Linked DNA regions of Homo sapiens: region 1 is linked to region 2. The links are contacts of gene promoters, found by promoter capture Hi-C in blood cells and fetal thymus (Javierre and others, 2016). All regions are on one chromosome and are shown on one strand. Each heading gives the region's core, a stretch centred on a gene start or on the middle of the fragment in contact. The rest is flanking DNA. Distances are from core to core; before and after follow the strand shown. Region 1 holds the start of FBL (fibrillarin). Region 2 holds the start of VRK3 (VRK serine/threonine kinase 3).

Region 1 (4,357 bases), core at 1,211-3,710, about 10 Mb before region 2:
TCCTCATGTACCAAAAGTACCCATTCCTCAGAAAAAACACATGTTCACACAAACTTTTCCAGTTAGTTCTTTTTTCATCTTTCTATTAAAGATGAAAATGTAACTTTTAATAGCTACTCCTAATTTGATCTTTTAAAATGAAGTTTCCTTTTCAAAACTCTAGAACATAACTAAGAGTTGTTCACTTTTTAATGTTCTACTCCCCCTACAGTCCACTTTCCACACAGCAACTAATAAGTGCTGTTTTTGAAACAGCAACTCAGATCTCAATTTTCTTGCCCAAGCCCTCCAACAGTTTTCCAAAGCCAAGACCTTCATTTAGGGGAGATGCCACAGCTAGGCTTATGAAAGTCTCAACCCAGGCCTAACAGAAAGGAAGTACTGGCATGTGCTTGGGGCGGAGTGGGCATGAGTGTAAACTTTCAATCCCAGATACTCAAAACATCTCAATCCGTTTCAGGTCCTGGAGCTTTTGGGGGAAAATGTACCAAAAGTACCCAGTCCTCAGAAAAAACACATGTTCACACAAACTTTTCCAGTAAGTTCTTTTTTTGGGGGGAGGGGGGTCCATAAACCCCCTGATTTAAAATCTGCTCTCCTTCCACAGCCTTCTCCATCTCAAAAATGGCAATTCCATCCTTCCAGTTACACACCCCCAAACCCTTGGTTATCCTTGACTCCGATCACACACCCACATACAATCTGTTGGTTCTGTCTTCAAAAGCATGTAAAACTGTCAGCATGTCCACTGCTCCCATCCTGGTCCACCACACCATCTCCTAGATTACAGCAACAAGCTTCCCACCAATGTGCCTGCTTCCACTTTTGCCACCCTGAGGTCTTTCACACATCGAAGCAAAAAGAATCCCTTTTAAAAATGTCAGACTGCACCACGCCCCTGCTCAAAAATCTCCCAAAGGGTTCTTTTCTCACTCAGGCTAAAATCCTTACTAAAGAGCTAACACCTGACAACTTTTACAACTTCACATTCTACCACACATGGAGGAAGGTTGGAAGAACGGGTATCCTCCATTTATGAGGGAATCACAGACCAGAATGCCTGCAGGCAAGCCAGGATCTCAGCATACCTGGCCTACAATCCCCCACCCCACTTCATCAAGAGATCCCCAAACACGGAAGAGAAAGGGAACTTGGGAGAAGGGCACAGATCCACAAATCTCCTGCCAGGTGACCCCCATCTCTCCACACAAACACACACACAAAAGAAAAAGAAAGCCTGTACTAGGAAAACAGACCCTTTGGGCCATGGTGGAAATTCTCCAAACTCAATGAAGCAAGTTCTCACACAGATGAGTGCGGGTTGGGCAGGCCAGATGGAGGAAGTGCTCAGGCACCACCGAGAAGGATTCTAATGTTGTTCTCTTTGAGAAAGATAAAGGTAACAATTAGAGCTAATACTATTATATGTCAAGCACTGTGCTATTTTTTTTAACGTCGCTTAATCCTAACTGGCGCCATTTTATTGATGAGAAAACAGAGGCTCAGAGAGGTAAAGCCACTTGCCCAAGTTCACACAGCAGGCTAAGAAGCTGAGCAAGAGCTGACACACTGAACTGAGGCCCTTCTGCTGTCAAAGCCAGGACCCCCTCATCATTCCACCATGAAGGGAGTGGTTTCAGCAGAATCTAGTGGAAAATCTTAAGAATAAAACTACTTACCTCCTGTGACAACCACCCGCCCCACCACCCCAGACTAATGCCGAGCTTGTTAAGTCTCGTCCCGGAGGTGGAAATCTTAATCCCCAAATCTCCACTCCATCCCCGGGGATCCGCCCCACTGTAAGTGCAGAAGGCGGGAAAGTGAGCCGAAGAGCGCCGCACACGGCCAACCGGGGAGTCCTCATCCACTCCGGCCCACTCGGAAAAGCTGGGATGCGGGATAAGGGGATGGTGGTGGTGGCAGCGACAGGGAAGGCAAATGGGGGCTTCCCACACACAGCTCCAGGACCCAAGGTCAGGAACTCTCCATCTCCGACCCAAGCCTGATTCCCAAAACACGCCCAGCGATCCAAGACTCCAGATGCCTGAATCCAAACTCTAGCCCAAGACCCTTGAGTGCCGCCTCCTGCCCAATATCCAAAATCCCTATTAGACGGCCTCAATGAGACGAACCCCACGTCAACACCCCCAATGCCAGGCCCACGGCCTTCTTCGACTCACGACCGTGACCTCTGAAGCCAGTCACAAACCCCTAGACCTGCTGGAATCAGAATCCCCCTTCCCACAGGAGACTGGAACCCGTGCTCAGAACCCCTGCCCCCAGGCCAAGGCCCCACCCCTCCGATTCTGGCCTGGCACCCGGATTCCCGCCCGGCCTCCGTCCCTGACCCCGGACCCTCACCCCAGCCTGACCTGGCTTCATGGCGAGCCCTGGTTTGTGCGGCTCCGGAGTCCGCGGCGTTCACAACTCCACGAGTCCGGGGCTTTCGCACGTGGAAAAGAGCGCAGGCGCGCGGCGACGTGCGCTGCGTGACGCCACCCCGTAGTCCCGCCCCCGGGCCCCTTCCCCGCCCGGAGCTCGGCGCACGCGCAGTGAGCCTGGATTCTCGAGCCTGTCGACACGCAACCCGCTGCCCTCGCTCTCTGCCTTCCCAGCCTTTGCCTGTGCAGCGGTCGCCCTAAACTCGCTTCCGGTTTCCTCTTCCCCAATGCGAGCACCCCAATAATCAGGGCTCATAGCCTTCGCACGGGCTGTGCCCTCTTTTGTATTCCTAGCTAAATCCCTCTGGCCCCTGTACACCCAAAAAGGCTTCCCCAATACATTTCCAGCCCCAAGAACAGTGACCGACTCTGGGCTTCCATTCAAACATCCGAAAAACATTTACAGTGCACCTCGTGTGTACCAGGTGCTGTTCTAGGAGCTGGGAATACAGCGGTGTACGAGACATAAAAATCTCCACTCTCCTGGAGTTCATCTTTTTAATGGAGGAAATAGACACCAAACATGTTGAATGTTTGAAAGCGATAAGTGCTTTGGAGAAAATAACAGCAGGGAAAGGGGATAGAGATTTTGGAGGGCAAATGATTTTTGTTTTTTTGGCACGGTGGTCAAGGAATGCATCAGGAGACTTTTGAGCTAAAGGGCTGAAGGAAGTGAGGAGTGAGGCATGCACCTATCTAGGGGAAGAGAGTTCCAGGCAGGGAAAAGATCTGCAGATGCAGAGGCCCTGAGGAAGGAAAGATATGGGAAGTTGGAGAGACAATGAGGAGGGTGGGTGGGGCAAAGTGAGCAAGGTGGAGAGTAAGAGGAGATAAGGGCGGGTAGCTAACAAGGGCAGATTGTGCGGAGCTTTGTGGGACATAGTGAGGACTTAGGCAGTAAGATGGAACCATGGAAGGGTTCCAAGCAGAGAAGGAATGTGATCTGACACAGGTCCCTCTGGCTGCATGTGGGAAGCAGACTGCAGGAGTGAGGGTGAAAGCAGGAAAACCAAGGACTGGCTGCTGCCGTGAATCAGAAGAAAAGGATGGACAGATCAGAGTGGGGGCAGAGAGCGGCGTCAGGGGTCAACAGATTCTGCTTAAGTATTAAGAATTTTGGGCTTTGTAATTGTGTAATATCAGTATCCATCCCTATATTCATTCTGCAAAGCAAGACAACTGCTGTTATGAGAAGTTACCGAAAAACTCCAGAAGAACCTACCAGTCCAGAGCCTAGATGTTGACTCTGTTCCATTCACTGCTCTATCACTCTAGGCCTAGGACAGCCCTCTGGGTGCCCAGTAAATGTTTGTTGAATGAATGGATGGCCTCATACCGTTGTGAGTTCTCTGTGTACAGTGTTCCAGCTGTGGAATGCCACCAATTTGCACAGAAACATTCCTGAAAGATTGTTTAGATATTATGATGGAAAATCTGCTTAAACTTTTCAGAACCGGTCGGGGCAGTGGCTCACACCTGTAATCCAGGCACTTTGGGAGGCCGAGGCAGGAGGATCGCTTGAGCCCAGGAGCTTAAGGCCAGCCTGGGCTACAGAGTGAGACCTTATCTTTACAAAAAATAAAAAATTAGCTGGGTATGGTTGCTTGCACCTGTAGTCCCAGCTACTCAAGAGGCTGAGGCAGGAGGATCCTTTGAGCCCAGTAGGTCTAGGCTGAAATGAGCCATGACTGCACCACTACACTCCAGCCTGGGTCACAGAGCGACACCCCTGTCCCAAAACAAAAACAAAAACCAAACAAAAAAAACTTTTTAAAAACTATGAGATGAAATAGTTGAGTCTATTCTGGATTTCTAGATGTGCAATGATTCCAGTGGGTCCAATTCCGGATAATGTTACCTATTTCACATGGATTTTACTATTTGCCTTCTAATTAATATTTTTCTTCTAAAGGACA
Region 2 (4,167 bases), core at 1,303-3,802:
TGTAAGTCAGACCCTGTCCCTCCTCTACTCAAAACCGTATGGTGGATTTCATTTTAGACAGAATAAATGCTGAAATTCCTACCATGGCCCAGGAGCCCCCTGTATGATCTGCCACTTCCCTGTTCCCTCTCTGACCTCTCCCACCTCTCCCCTTGCTCACGCTGAGTCAGCCACAACAGCTTCGGTGCTTTTCCCCAATCGTGACAAGAACGTTTCTTCCCCAAGACCTTTGCACCTGCTCTCCCATCTGCCTGGAACGCTGTCCCCCTAAGAGTGCACACAGTTAACTTCCTCATCACATTCTTTAGCTCTCTGTTCAAATGTCACCTTCTCAGAGACCTTCTTGGACACGATTTTACTGTGTTTTTTCTTTTCTTTTTTTTGAGATGGAGTTTGGCTCTTTTCGCCCAGGCTGGAGTGCAATGGCACGATCTCGGCTTACTGCAAACTCTGCCTCCCGAGTTCAAGTGATTCTCCTGCCTCAGCCTCCCATGTAGTTGGGATTACAGATGCGTGTCACCACGCCTGGCTAATTTTATATTTTTAGTAGAGATGGGGTTTCACCATGTTGGCCAGGCTGGTCTTAAACTCCTGACCTCAGGTGATCCCCCTCAGCCTCCCAAAGTCCTGGGATTACAGGCTCGAGCCACCGTGCCTGGCCCTGGACACCATTTTACTAATAGCATGTTTTATCCTCCTTACCTTGCTTTATTTTTCTTCACAGTGCTTGTCACTACCTGACATACTCTGACTTACTAGAATGTAAGCTTCATGATGGCGGGGACTTTTCCCTGCCTTGTTTGCCACAGTGTGCCCAGAGCCTCAAACAGGCCTGGCACAGAGCAAATGCTGGGTCTACGTCTGCTGAGTGAATAAATCATTGTCTCCTTTGCAAAAGAAAATGTGCCAAGAAGGTGGGTGGGGGGGGTCCCCAGCTGTGTCAGTACACATTCATCTCTCAGGCAAATCTAGACATCCAGCCAGAGACTCAAAGCTCAGGGCCGGAATTATCTAGCTGGATGGTCCCTAAAAAAGACGTGCCACTTAGAAGCAGATCAGTACAGGGGTTAAGAGGATAAACTTGGGAAATAATCTGCCTGGGTTTGGATCTTGCTTCTGCCATGTATTGCATGATGGACAGAGTTTTGCTATGTCACCCAGGTTGGAGAGCAGTGGCACGACCTCAGCTCACTTGCAACCTCCGCTTCCTGGGTTCAAGCGATTCTCCCTGCCTCAACCTCCCGAGTAGCTGGGATTACAGGCGCATGCCACCATGCCCGGCTAATTTTTTTATTTTTAGTAGAGATGGGGTTTCACCATGTTGGCCAGGCTGGTCTCGAACTCCTGAACCCAGGTGATCCGCCCACCTCGGTCTCCTAAAGTGCTGGGACTACAGGCGGGAGCCACCGTGCCCAGCCAAATTTTTTGGATTTTAGAACCTATTACATATTACAACACCGGCGAGATCCAGGGGCAACTCTCCATAAGTATATGATTTGCACAACAAAATCTTTAAAAATTCTAAATAGTCACACATCAGTTCAGAGTGGGTATTGCCAGCAAACAAGTTCAAAGCCAGGTGAGGTTGGCCTGCCAAGTAAGTTGCAAAACAGAGAAAAAGACCTTTCAGTTTTCAGAACGTTTTGGATTTTAAAGTTATAGATAAGGGACTGCAGACCTGTAAATATTCTTTAACATTTCTTTTTTAGTGTCTGGCATCCCCAACCACCCTGAGAATGTGAATTAGCTGGGCAGGATTTTTGTTTTAGACACTGCTATAATAACCTGGGCTTGAACAGTGCCTATTAGACTAGCACCGTTCAAACCCAGGTTATAGTAGTGTAATATCGGTTGCACGGAGCCTTCCATATAGTAAACGCTCAATAAAATTGGATGTGCTGAAGTCACCTATGCAATGGCCAGGTCAGGACTTGAAACCCTAAGACTCCAACCCTCAGGCCAGTCTTTATCTTAATTTATTTGACTTATTCAACAAATGTTTAGGGAACAGCTGCTATGCGTCAACTACTGTATAGTGTTCCTCCTAGAAAGTTCAGGAAACAGCACAGCAAAAAGGCTAAAAGTCAGACCCCACCTCAGCGCAGGTGGGGCGATTGCCTAGGCGACGACAGAGCCTCCCTTCGGCCGCACCTCCATAGAAACCACGGGATGACTTAGACGCCAAGTTTCACAGCGGAGGAGCTGTCGAACTTCCCACAAGTTCCGCCCATCTCCGCCTTAGCCATGCCCAACACGGAGCCCAAGGTGGCTTGGGAAGCTCAAGAGGAGGCCAGTGAACCCCGCGACCCGGAGCCGCTCTCATTCCGAACCCCGACAGCAGGGGCCTCCGCCTCCCACAAACGGTCGTGCTGACGTCACGGACGCCCCGGCCGAGCTGCGGCTAGGGGGTCGGGGGACGTCCCCTCGTTCGCCTCGCTTCCCCTCACCTCTGTACTTGGGGACTGGGGTGGGATTCTGGGCTTCTGCAGCCTGACCCTCGGATCCTCCGCAGTTACCCGGACTCACCTTCTCAGTTGCCCAGCGAAAACTTCCGCTGGGCGGAGAGCGCTGCGCGCGCATCCTGAATCTGAGGCGCCCGCGCAGGCGCCGCTGACTTCCTGACGGCCCCTGGGCTTCGCCTGCCTGGGAACTCCGTTTCCCAGATGCCTCCGCGGCAGGCCCGCCCTCTGATTCCAGACGGAATGGGGATTATTCCCTCATTGCTCATCCCCCTCCCCTCCGTTCTAGCCGCTTTGGAACGCCTTCTGGTTCTACTGCGCATGTGTCAGTGTCAGACCAATCGGAATGCACCGTGAGGTACCTCTCCACCAATCAGAGGTCACATTACCTAAACTTCTGCCTCAACTCCGCCCCTTACTTCCGCTTGTTTTCTCAGAAACCCGTCACAACGCGTTTCCATGGCAACCTACCGCTTGCTCTTCGGAAAAGGTTAACACTCCCTGACTTCTAGTAAAGGCAAGAAGCTAATTAGATGATTCTTTAACAAGGTAAAAATCTGGACTACAAACTGATGCCGCCTGGTCCTGATTCTCTTTCTACTCTACTCCCACAGTGCTAAGGCTGAAGAAGCAGGAGGAGATGGGAAGGCGAAAGAAGTCGCCCGCACAGCCCTCTGGGAAATAGAGTCCTGGCGCTGCCGCGGAGGATCCTGGGTGCAGCCGCTCAGAGAAGCTTCTCGCGCACAGGAAGTCGCTGCGAGGAGGCGCGTGTGCGGGGAGTTGAATCTCCCGCTCCCTTGAGGCTGGGGTTGCGTCTGTTGACGCGGCCGACTACAATCCCGAGGTACGGAGACGCTGGGGCTGAGGGACTTGCGGGCTCGGTCCTTCCTGAGAGGTGACGGAATGCAAGTGGGGGCGACTTCGGCAAAGGGTGCGTCGCCTTGGGCGGCGGTTGTCAGGGTGAAGGTGTGAACCGTCTTTCACAGTCTGTTATGAAAACCGCTCAAGGTCTGGGCACGGTAGATCACGCCTGTAATCCCAGCACTTTGGGAAGCCTTGGCGGGGGGGATCACTTACAGCCAGGAGTTCCTCGAACCCCCAGTCTCTACTAAAAATACAAAAATTAGTTGAGCGTGGTGGCGGGGGCCTGTAATCCCAGCTACTCAGGAGGCTGAGGCAGGAGAATCGCTTGAACCCAGGAGCTGGAGGTTGCAGTGAGCCGAGATCGCGCCATTGCACTCCAGCCTGGGTGACAGAGCGAGACTACATCTTAAAAAAAAAAAAAAAAAAAGAAAGGAAGAAAACCACCTTGGGAGGCTGAGGTGGGCGGATCGCTTGAGCCCAGGATTTCGAGGCTAGCCTGGGCCAGATGGTGAAGCCCTGTCTCCACAAAAGAAGAAAAAAATAGAAAAATTAGCCGGGCGTGGTGGTGCGCCCCTGTATTCCTAGCTAATTGGGAGGCCGAGGTGGGAGGATTGCTTGAACCCAGGAGGCAGAGGTTGCAGTGAGCTGAGAAAGAAAAGAAAAGAAAAGAAAACTGCTAAAGGGGTTTCCAGGCCTCCCTGATGGCCCTGAGAGGAGTGGTTCTGTTTTATTTTGGTTTTGGTTGGGGAAGGAGGGGAATGAGTTACCTGAAGTTGGCAAATTTAGGCAGAATCTTGCTGGACGATGGATGGGAGTTCTTCGGGAAGTTGAAGTACTTAACATT

The links. Contacts are between HindIII fragments. The CHiCAGO score rates a contact against its expected background, and 5 or more counts as called.
Region 1: a contact is called between the fragment with the promoter of FBL here and the fragment with the promoter of VRK3 in region 2, in 1 of 17 cell types (fetal thymus). The highest score is 5.0, in fetal thymus.

The regions. Positions count from the first base shown.
Region 1 is chr19:39,843,919-39,848,275 of GRCh38, forward strand. FBL (fibrillarin) reads right to left here and starts at 2,461. Exons shown (of 9, transcript NM_001436.4): 1 at 2,373-2,461. The coding sequence starts at 2,382. RefSeq lists an enhancer at 1,266-2,006. The HindIII fragment of the contact is 4,240 bases long and covers 796-4,357 here.
Region 2 is chr19:50,022,820-50,026,986 of GRCh38, forward strand. It overlaps VRK3 (VRK serine/threonine kinase 3), which reads right to left and starts at 2,553. Exons shown (of 15, transcript NM_016440.4): 1 at 2,448-2,553. It overlaps ZNF473 (zinc finger protein 473), which reads left to right and starts at 3,186. Exons shown (of 5, transcript NM_015428.4): 1 at 3,186-3,303. RefSeq lists enhancers at 1,859-2,360, 2,410-2,489, 2,830-2,879, 3,290-3,339. The HindIII fragment of the contact is 2,425 bases long and covers 766-3,190 here.